Linked DNA regions of Homo sapiens: region 1 is linked to region 2. Evidence: promoter capture Hi-C in 16 types of primary human blood cells and fetal thymus (Javierre and others, 2016). All regions are on one chromosome and are shown on one strand. The core of a region is centred on a gene start or on the middle of the fragment in contact, and the rest is flanking DNA. Distances in the headings are between cores, read along the strand shown. Region 1 overlaps RXFP2 (relaxin family peptide receptor 2). Region 2 holds the start of ZAR1L (zygote arrest 1 like).

Region 1 (5,828 bases), core at 2,345-4,844, 510 kb before region 2:
CACCAGGTTTATTGGCCTCATGTGAACTGCCTCATAGCGACACTATTTCTTAGTGTGTCCATTGTGTCCTTCAGATGATAAGCTTGGGGAGGCGTGTATGTCTTATTCTTCTGTGCATTTTCCACAGTGTTTTTCACATAGTGCTTTTGAGTAAATGATTAGTCAACTAAAGAAGGTGAGCTGGTCCAAGAGTGATGGAATAGGGGATCAGTCTCATCAACCCCCTCCCCACTACTGTCTCCACACTTTCTTCAAAAAAAAAAAAAATGGAGTCTCGCTCTGTTGCCCAGGCTGGAGTGCAGTGGTGTGATCCCAACTGACTGCAACCTCTGCCTCCCTGGTTCAAGCGATTCTCATGCCTCAGCCTCCCGAGTAGCTGGGATTACAGAAGTGCACCACCACACCTCGTTAATTTTTGTATTTTTAGTAGAGACAGGGTTTCACCATGTTGGCCAGGCTGGTCTCGAACTCCTGACCCCAAGTGATCTGCCCCCTGCTTTGGCCTCCTAAAGTGCTGGGATTACAAGCGTGAACCACCAAGCCTGACCCCGTCTCCACACCTTTTGATGTGCTTTCCCACTTGTAGGGGGACGCAGCCTAGTGTGGTGGAAGAAGGACCCAGCAACAAGTAAGGCGGAGGTCCTGGGTTCCTCTCCTGCCCCTGCCACTGACTTGTTGAGTGATCTCAGGGAGACCATCTCACCTCACCTCAATGAGACTACCTCTAGATGGTCCCTCAAATTCCTGCCTGTTTTAATCTTCTTTGAGGCTTTTTCTGTCTGTATGAGGCCACTAGGACTGCTATAACAAAGGACGTCCAGTTCTGGAGGCTGGAAGTCCAAGATCAAAGTGTCAGCAGGTTTGATTTCTCCTGAGCCCTTCTCATTGCCTCACAGGAGGCGTCCGCTCTGCTGTGTCCTCACATGGCAGCAGAACTCATCATCCTCAGCGAGTCTACGACACCTCAGATCATGATAAGCTTAGTAAATACCCCCATGAAGGGAACTAGAAGAGTAGAACATTGTCTTGTGGAAACATTATTGAGCCACACACCAGTCTTTCTTTACATGTATAGTTCAATAGTCTGAGGTTTGTCTTGAACACCTCAGTGGAACCAGGAAAAATGTCATGATCACAGTTGACAAAGCTTCTTCTCGCTTGCCCAGCTTCCCATGGCGTTGTAAGAAATGCTGCCTTCACTGACCTAAACCAACCCTGTCCCCACCCTCCAAGAAGTCTGGCATTTACTGGTTATGGCATGCCACTGACAGTACCTGGGGTCACCCAAAAGATAGGCCAGAGTTAGCCTATCTCAGAACTCAGCTGCTGCTAATCTTATAAGAAGTCTCATCCCAGCACTTTGGGAGGCCGAGGTGGGCAGATCACGAGATCAGGAGATCAAGACCATCCTGGCTAACACGGTGAAACCCCGTCTCTACTGAAAATATATAAAAAATTAGCCGGGCATGGTGGCAGGTGCCTGTAGTCCCAGCTACTCAGGAGGCTGAGGCAGGAGAATGGCATGAACATAAGAGGTAGAGCTTGCAGTGAGCCGAGATCGTGCCACTGCACTCCAGCCTGGGCGACAGAGTGAGACTCCATTTCAAAAACAAAACAAAACAAAAACAAAAAGAAGTCTCATTCAGAGTAGAACTTAAGTCTATGGCCATACCACCCTGAACATGCCTGATTTCATTCAGAGTGGAACTTACGTGGCCTATTTGCCTTTGCCTAATTGAAAGCAGGCACTATCAGGCATTGTTTTTCTGTGAGATTGGGGTGGGATTCGTGATCACAATTCCCTTTGTGGGCACAACAGAAAAAGGCCACTTATTTTGTTTTTCTTCAATCACTAACTGTTCAGATTGTCTAATTTTTTTAAATTAGGGACAAATAATATAAAACTTAATTTAAGACAGGCTAAAACATAATTTTTTTCTTTCATATTCCTTTCAGTTAAAAAATAAGGACAAGGAAGAGAAGATAGGATAGGAAGAGAGGAAGGTAAATATAGAAAAGGAGAGGAAAGAGATCAAAGGAAAAGAAGAAGGAAGGTCAGATAAGCAGTCAGAGAAGAAATGGAAAAGGAAGAAGACATAGAGAGGAAGAACAGAAAGATACAAGAAATAAGGCAGGGTCAAGAGAAGAACAAAATAACAGTGGCTGAAGGATAAAAAAAATTATGAGATTGCGAAGGAGGAGAGCAGAGGATGATGAGAGAAAGCATCATGGGTCTTACTAGCCACCTCTTCACCTGAATGGGGAGTTCCTTGAAATTGTGAAGATGTGAGAGGAAGTAGCGTCCTGTGGTAAGGTTTGAGGATCTCAAGTCTTAGTACCAAAAAAGCACATCAGCAGAGCTGACTCTGGCCCAGCCCGCTGGATTCAGTGAGCAAGTTATCACCAGCCCCCTTTAACAGAGAGAGCAGATGAAGTTGAGGAAGCATAAGTGATTCGCTCACACTCAACCTAGCTAAGTGTCCGGCCACAGGATCAGGCCACGTGTAAAGGGAAAGATGCATTTTGTGCTAACCAAGCAAATGAAATGATGCTCTCAGGAAGGACACTATCATTCCAAATTTCACCTCACAAAGAACTTCTTGTGACCTCTTTCCCTGAATATTCTATTAGCATTTGTAGGGCTGCACACAAGAGAATTTCATCAAGTTTAGGGAATGCATTCCTCTTTGCTCTTCAAAGCTTTTAATAGGATAACAGGATAACCAGAACACCAGGGCAGGGCAATAAGCTTTGAGAACTGGATGGAGTTAAGACCAAGGTCAGATCTGGCTTGGTCCAGGGGACCAGAAGTTTTGTGAACCTCACTCTATTGACTAAAGATTATTTCTTTATTTTTTTATTTTCCTATAAAGGAAGGTGATAAAATAGGAAAAAATGCATTATATAGCAATTTATAGTTTACAAAATGTTTTCACATATTTCCTGTTAATATCACAATGACCTTCACATTATTTACTGAAACTCAGAAAAGTTAAATCGTTAAGACCTTGAATTCATAGCTTCTGTGCTCTTCCAACAAAGATTTTCCTTCAGGTGAGAGAAAACTTAAAATGTACTATGTCTCCCTCTCATAAATAGCATTGACTGCAAAGTGTTATTTGTATTTTATGTCTATTTAAAACTTCAACTTTTTTTTCACACTTTGCTTCCTTTTCCAGACACAATGACTTCCTGGATAGTGATTTTTTTCCTTCCAGTTAACAGTGCTTTGAATCCAATCCTCTATACTCTCACAACCAACTTTTTTAAGGACAAGTTGAAACAGCTGCTGCACAAACATCAGAGGAAATCAATTTTCAAAATTAAAAAAAAAAGTTTATCTACATCCATTGTGTGGATAGAGGACTCCTCTTCCCTGAAACTTGGGGTTTTGAACAAAATAACACTTGGAGACAGTATAATGAAACCAGTTTCCTAGCAATCATTTTGGATCACTGGACTTTCAGTGGACTACCTAAAACAGGGGACAGCTTTTGGAAGATGACATCTGCAATGCTTTTCATCTTTACCAACGGCAAGCCTTTCTGCACAGAGAGCACAGCAGAATGGCTCCTGTCACTGCATTCCAATGGCAGCTGTACTATCTACCAACCATGCTGAGGACAGCACCAAAGGTTCCTCTCCTCACCCCACATGCCTGAAAAGCACATGTGAATTCGTGTATAGTGGGCTGAGGTGCAGCTGATCTCTAGCTAATCAACACAACCCACCAACAAATGACCACAGGTTGGCACTGTGTGGTCTTTCACATCGGGTTGCACTGTCCATGAAATAGAAACACTCACAACATCTGATTCCAGTGTGGCCATAATAACAGAAATCTAACAACTCTTTCCTTGCCTTTTCAATATCAAATAAAACCATCAGCATCCTGCTGGATTGATAGCAAAGGATTTCCAAAATATTCATCTACCCGAAGTCCTCCTCTGTGAAGGCCGGTGGAGTAGCCACTTTGAAAACAGAACTTCCAACCAGGTTACCATGTCTAACCTATGACCAGAGAGTCACACTGATGAAGCCTCATACCATTTGCCTTTTGGATTTTATTTAATATCAGAAGAGATGAATTCTTAAGATATTTTTCTGAAGGTTGCCCAGGGCACAAACAAATTGGACACTTTCACTGCTAAAAAGTACACTTTAATATTCTTAAAGTATAATTTCTTTAGAGCAGTATCCCTATTGCTGGCAAGTTCTGCTTTCATAAAATATGCAGATAAGAAGTGTTAAATGGGATTCAAGAATTATGGTTTTATTTGGGACTGTTTGCATACTCACAATGGTTTTGTTCTCATTGTTTTTAACAAAAAAGCAATGAAGTTTGGGGTGGTTTTTTGAAAACGAAACTGAAAAAAATTATATGTGAAAATGAGAACTGGGTAAATAAAATTATATTTTGCACTTGTCCATATATTAATTTAAGCTTAACAAAGACCATGGATGGGGTTTGTTGACTGTTAAGCATGTTTCTCCTGATAAAGAATACAGCCAGGAAACACAGCATTTCAGTTCACAAGACACATCCTATATTTTTCTCTCTTCCCCTTTTGCCACAGCATGAGGCAGTTACTTAATTTCTTCACTGTTCACTTCATTCTGAGTTCCTTTAATGAGATAAAATGTAAGCAGCTGACTAAGACCACCACAATACCTCCTATTACATATTAAATGGACACCCTTTATCCAGTAGCATCCAGAAGAGAAAGAAATTCAGAGTTTATGGGTCTCAGCCATTCTGGTAATTTACTTGTTATTACTCACTATTGACTAAAATCATAACGTGAGTTCATTCATTTTGATCAAGTAAGATATTTCTCATGTATAATAAAAGATTTTCATTAGGATTCTAGAAATAATGTTCCCACTCATTGACTATGCTACCCTTTCCTTTATGGCTTTAAATTTTTCTCCATCTTGTTTCTTCAGTATGATGAATTGCTTCCTAACTTGTTTTCCAGGTTTGCTGACATTTTATCAGATGTCTTTGCCAGTCCTTGATCATCTTACGATTTATTTCCTAATACATTTTCTAACACCAGGAGCATAAATAAGGGGTAGACCCTGAGCCTAGGGTATTGTAATTTTAGCACCAATGTGTGTCTCCCGTTCTTGAAAAGCATCATCCGTGGTCCATGAACCAAGTCTTTGGGAACCATGTAAGAGCCCGCACTTTACTGTAGTGCAGTGAGTGGGCATGAGAAGAGGCACGCAACCAGATGCTTTGGGGAAGGTGGCAGCTGTATGGAAAAATGGGAGCTCTACATAGGTCAGCAACATGCCAACAAATAGCATGAACTTCATATCTGATAGCTTGGTAATTTATAGTCTTATTCTGTACTGCTCTGCAAATAGAAAACCATTAGAAATTTGTATTATTTTAGTAAATAATAGTCTTTAATGTGGATTGAGTGAGAACTTTTGTGCTAGGCCAAGCCTGTTTTCTAAACATGGTATTTCTGTGTGGTTATGAAAATATCACCTGTGTCCATGAACCATTTTCCATGACAATCTAAGCATCAATTAAATGTCACTGCAGAATTTCAGAGGCCACAGACGGTGCCATCTCTGAGTGGGAGAGGGTGTGGGCAAATCATCTGCTCCACATCCTAACTATGCATCTGTATATGACTGATGTCTTGAAGAGGATAAGAAAAAAATACCCCCAAAAATCAATATGGAGCTTCAGACGAGTGTACAGAAAAAGGGTATGTGTTTTATTTGTGTTAGACATTGATAAGATAGTTTACATAACTTTGCTTCATCCTAGAGGCTTTTGTTCATAGCTTTCATAGCTTTTTTTAATTCAG
Region 2 (5,401 bases), core at 2,902-5,401:
GGAAAAGGAGGGAGGGGATGAGGCTGGTCGAGGACTAAGAAGAGGGAAGAGAGGATCTACCTGGAAGTTGGGCCTCCGGAGCGGCTCGGAGGCGGCGTCTCCAGGCACCTGCTTGCTCTTCGTCTCCTGAGGGCACGGGGCGTCTTTCTCCCCCGATTCCTCCAGCTGCCCGGGCTCCTCCTGCCTGTCAGCTCCTGACCTCCGTGATGGTGGCTGCGGCTGGCTGGCCTCCGCAGGGCCCGGGAGCGCCTTGCTCTCCGCTTCGTCCCCATCTCTCCGCAGGCGGATCAAGCCCCTGCGGCCGGTGGCGGGCGAAGTGACCCCACAGGCTGGCAGGGGCTCCTGGGGGTCTCTGCCGTCCCAGGGGGAGCAGCTGCTGAGGGTGCGAGGCCCCAGAGAGCACTGCACAGCCTTGTCCACCCGCGGGCTCACCTGCACGCCCACCTCCTTGGTGTTGGGCTTGCACAGCCGCGGGCTCAGGCTGGGGTTCATCTGGGAGAGAATGGCCTTAAGCTGCGCCCTCTTGTAAGGGTCAATGCAGTAGTCAGGGGCGTTCGCGGGCACCAGCAGCCCTGGCCTGGCCAGAAAAGTGGGAGGACCCATATTTTGCCTCCAGTCGGGCTGTTTGTGCCCTGAGAGTCCAGGCTGGCCCAAAGGCACTGTGCTCCCATAACCCTGGTACAAGCCATAGGGAACACGGACAAAGCGCTCCATCCGCTCTCAGGTGCTCAGGCGCAGTCTAATATCCTAGCCAGTTTGTTTGGGTCCTTATTTTGCCTTCCTCCTTCATCCGCCCCTTCTTTCTCTTCATCAGGTTGGTTCAGATTCATTCCTGGCTTCTCCATTTATTTCAGATTCTAATGGGAGCTGCTGCTTATTACCCTGATTGAGGGAGAGAAGCTCTATCTACAGATGTCTAATTGCCACCTGATTCCTACCTAATTGCTTTTCCCTACCTCTTCACTGTTCGGGAATCTTTTTTTCAAAGCTGTTTTTCATTTCCAGCTTATTCACACATATGCTTTAATTAGTGATTAATTCATATATTCCTGTAGTGACCATTCTAAAGATCCTTTGTAAGGTAATGTGGTAATGTTAGATAATGTTTTAAGGTACAGCCATTATGGACAACAGTATGAAGGTTCCTTAAAAAAGTTAATAGAAGTACCAGATAATCCAGTAATCCCACCACTGCGTATTTACCCAAAGGAAATGAAATCAATATCCTGAAGAGATACCTTCACTTCCTTGTTCGTTGTAGCATTATGCACAATAGCCAAGTTATGGAAACAATCTAAGTGTCTGTTAACAGAAAAATGGATAGAGAAATTGTGGCATGTATTTATACAATGGAATATTATTCAGCCTTAAAACAGGAGATCCTGGCCAGGCGCGGTGGCTCACACCTGTAATCCCAGCAGTTTGGGAGGCCGAGGCAGGCAGATGACCTAAGGTCAGGAGTTCGAGACCAACCTGGCCAACATGATGAAACCCTGCCTCTAATAAAAATACAAAAATCAGCCGGGTATGGTGGCACGCTCCTGTAATCCCAGCTACTCGGGAGGCTGAGGCTGGAGAATCACCTGAACCCGGGAGGCAAAGGTTGCAGTGAGCTGAGATCACACTACTGCACTCCAGTCTGGGCAACAGAGAGAGAAAGACTCCGTCTCAAACAAACAAACAAACAAAAAACAGGAGATCCTGCCATTTGCAACAACATGGGTGAAACTGGGGAACATTATGCTAAGTGAAATAAGCCAGATAGAAAAATACTGCATAAACTCACTGATATGTGGAATCTGAAAAAGTCAAATACATAGAAGCAGAAAGTAGAATGGTGGTTACCAGGGACAGGAAGTTGGGGGGAATGGAGAGAGACTGGTCAGAGCCTAAAATGTTACAGTTAGGTAGAATGAATGAGTCTAGAGATCTAATTTACAGCATAACGACTACAGTTAACAATACTGTATTTTATACTGAAAAGTTTCAAAGAGAAATTTCAGGTGCTCTCACCGCACACAAAAGAAAGGTAATTATGTGAACAGATGGATATGTTAATTGCTTGACTATAGTAATCATCTCACTGTGTACATATACATGTTGTGCACATTAAATATATACAACTTTTAGGAAATAATGGTTTTTTGGGTTTTTGTTTGTTTGCTTGTTTGAAATGGAGTTTCCTTGCTCTGTCTCCCAGGCAGGAGTGCAGTGGCATGATTTCGGCTCACTGCAACTTCCGCCTCTGGGGTTCAAGTGATTCTCCCACCTCAGCCTCCCAAGTAGCTGGGATTACAGGCACATGCCACCACACCCAGTTAATTTTTGTATTTTTAGTAGAGACAGGGTTTTGCCATGTTGGCCAGGCTGGTCTCGAACTCCTGACCTCAGGTGATCTGCCCACCTTGGCCTCCCAAAGTGCTGTGATTACAGGCGTGAGCCACCATGCCCAGCTGGAAATAATGTTTTTAAGAAAAATTAAAGCATATTGTAAATTGAATACAAATAGTAAATTGAGCAGCTGCACTAGAAGAGAATAGGTGAGAAAGTCTATTATGGTGGAGCTAATAAGTTGCAAGTCCCTGGTACAAAGAGAACAAGAAACATAAAGGTATGGGGGGCTGTATAAAATGACAGAAAATGTTATTTCTGAGACTTGTGTGACATGCCACGGGTTCTCATTAGTCCACTCCTAGTGAGACACCCCTCCCCCACAAAAAGGGGACAAAGCATATTGTTCTGATTTATAGGGTAAATAAATCACAGGTTAGTTAAGTGTATGAAGTCAAATGGACTAGAATTCAAACCTGGGCCTTACTACCAGGCACATTACTTAACTACTTGATTCAGTATCCTCATCTGACAATACTGACCAATTTACAGGATTACTGTAAGATTAAACATGGTATTGCTTGAAAACCCAAAGCAGAATGCCTAACTCATAAAATGTTTGGTAAGTGGCAGCTGTTATTAGTAAGGATCACAGACGTATTTCTTTGCGAATTAGACTTAGAGCAAAAGCTTTAGAATCTATCTGCATTAGTAAGGCCTCCTTCTACAACTAAGGATTACTGATTATCAAACTAAAATGGTCCCTAAGGAACCAAGCGGAGCCCACCCTTTTCCTAATCCAAGGTTGCTTCTGTTTACTGCTCAAGCACCTTCTGGAAGCAGCAAGGCCCCCATGGGAGCAACTCTCACTGAATCCATTTGAAGGTTTTGTAGGTCTTACAACAAACCCTATTCAGCCTTGTATTAGGCATGTTACAGAACCAACGAATTCGGAGATGAAGTCAGGTCTTCCAGTTCAGCCTGCGAGGAAGACAGGTGATCCGAATCCTAAGAATGCAAAAGATGGGCCGGGTGTGGTGGCTCATGCCTGTAATCCCAGCGCTTTGGGAGGCCGAGGCAGGCAGATCACCTGAGGTCGGGAGGTTGAGACCAGACTGACCAACAACGGAGAAACCCCGTCTCTACTTAAAAATGCAAAGTTAGCCGTGCGTGGTGGCCCATGCCTGTATTCCCAGCTACTCGGGAGGCTGAGGCAGGAGAACCACTTGATCCCTGGAGGCGGAAGTTGCGGTGAGCGGAGATTGCGCCATTGCACACCAGCCCGGGCCACAAGAGCGAAACTCCGTCTCAAAAAAAAAAGCAAAAGATACTACCAAGCCCTGCGGAGCAAGGTACCTCACACTTCATGAGCGAGTTAAGATGGGTTTCACAATTTTTCAAGCAAGGAAACGGGCTCGGAGGTCTTGAACACCTGCTACCCAATAGCAGAACAGCTACTGGAACTAAAATCCTCTGATTTCAAATAACAGCCCCGCCCACTACCACTAAGTGAAGTCATCCACAACCACACACCGACCACTCTAAGCTTTTGTAAGATCGGCTCGCTTTGGGGAACAGGTCTTGAGAGAACATCCCTTTTAAGGTCAGAACAAAGGTATTTCATAGGTCCCAGGTCGTGTCCCGAGGGCGCCCACCCAAACATGAGCTGGAGCAAAAAGAAAGGGATGGGGGACTTGGAGTAGGCATAGGGGCGGCCCCTCCAAGCAGGGTGGCCTGGGACTCTTAAGGGTCAGCGAGAAGAGAACACACACTCCAGCTCCCGCTTTATTCGGTCAGATACTGACGGTTGGGATGCCTGACAAGGAATTTCCTTTCGCCACACTGAGAAATACCCGCAGCGGCCCACCCAGGCCTGACTTCCGGGTGGTGCGTGTGCTGCGTGTCGCGTCACGGCGTCACGTGGCCAGCGCGGGCTTGTGGCGCGAGCTTCTGAAACTAGGCGGCAGAGGCGGAGCCGCTGTGGCACTGCTGCGCCTCTGCTGCGCCTCGGGTGTCTTTTGCGGCGGTGGGTCGCCGCCGGGAGAAGCGTGAGGGGACAGATTTGTGACCGGCGCGGTTTTTGTCAGCTTACTCCGGCCAAAAAAGAACTGCACCTCTGGAGCGGGTTAGTGGTGGTGGTAGTGGGTTGGGACGAGCGCGTCTTCCGCAGTCCCAGTCCAGCGTGGCGGGGGAGCGCCTCACGCCCCGGGTCGCTGCCGCGGCTTCTTGCCCTTTTGTCTCTGCCAACCCCCACCCATGCCTGAGAGAAAGGTCCTTGCCCGAAGGCAGATTTTCGCCAAGCAAATTCGAGCCCCGCCCCTTCCCTGGGTCTCCATTTCCCGCCTCCGGCCCGGCCTTTGGGCTCCGCCTTCAGCTCAAGACTTAACTTCCCTCCCAGCTGTCCCAGATGACGCCATCTGAAATTTCTTGGAAACACGATCACTTTAACGGAATATTGCTGTTTTGGGGAAGTGTTTTACAGCTGCTGGGCACGCTGTATTTGCCTTACTTAAGCCCCTGGTAATTGCTGTATTCCGAAGACATGCTGATGGGAATTACCAGGCGGCGTTGGTCTCTAACTGGAGCCCTCTGTCCCCACTAGCCACGCGTCACTGGTTAGCGTGATTGAAACTAAATCGTATGAAAATCCTCTTCTCTAGTCGCACTAGCCACGTTTCGAGTGCTTAATGTGGCTAGTGGCACCGGTTTGGACAGCACAGCTGTAAAATGTTCCCATCCTCACAGTAAGCTGTTACCGTTCCAGGAGATGGGACTGAATTAGAATTCAAACAAATTTTCCAGCGCTTCTGAGTTTTACCTCAGTCACATAATAAGGAATGCATCCCTGTGTAAGTGCATTTTGGTCTTCTGTTTTGCAGACTTATTTACCAAGCATTGGAGGAATATCGTAGGTAAAAATGCCTATTGGATCCAAAGAGAGGCCAACATTTTTTGAAATTTTTAAGACACGCTGCAACAAAGCAGGTATTGACAAATTTTATATAACTTTATAAATTACACCGAGAAAGTGTTTTCTAAAAAATGCTTGCTAAAAACCCAGTACGTCACA

Evidence for each region. The method cuts DNA at HindIII sites, captures the fragments that hold promoters and counts their contacts. A CHiCAGO score of 5 or more calls a contact.
Region 1: a contact is called between a fragment that was not itself captured here and the fragment with the promoter of ZAR1L in region 2, in 1 of 17 cell types (M2 macrophages). The highest score is 5.7, in M2 macrophages.

What each region holds. Positions count from the first base shown.
Region 1 is chr13:31,798,967-31,804,794 of GRCh38, forward strand. It overlaps RXFP2 (relaxin family peptide receptor 2), which reads left to right. Exons shown (of 18, transcript NM_130806.5): 18 at 3,180-4,423. The coding sequence ends at 3,439. All of the region lies in intron 2 of LOC105370152 (a long non-coding RNA gene), which reads right to left. Among named protein-coding and RNA genes, the nearest start is that of RXFP2, 62 kb to the left of the region's middle. The HindIII fragment of the contact is 1,695 bases long and covers 2,748-4,442 here.
Region 2 is chr13:32,311,212-32,316,612 of GRCh38, forward strand. ZAR1L (zygote arrest 1 like) reads right to left here and starts at 4,152. Exons shown (of 6, transcript NM_001136571.2): 1 at 4,104-4,152; 2 at 3,119-3,339; 3 at 61-882. The coding sequence starts at 714. It overlaps BRCA2 (BRCA2 DNA repair associated), which reads left to right and starts at 4,297. Exons shown (of 27, transcript NM_000059.4): 1 at 4,297-4,456; 2 at 5,211-5,316. The coding sequence starts at 5,250. RefSeq lists a silencer at 3,348-3,568, a cis regulatory region at 3,687-3,753, a promoter at 4,082-4,578 and an enhancer at 4,687-4,956. The HindIII fragment of the contact is 7,545 bases long and covers 3,876-5,401 here.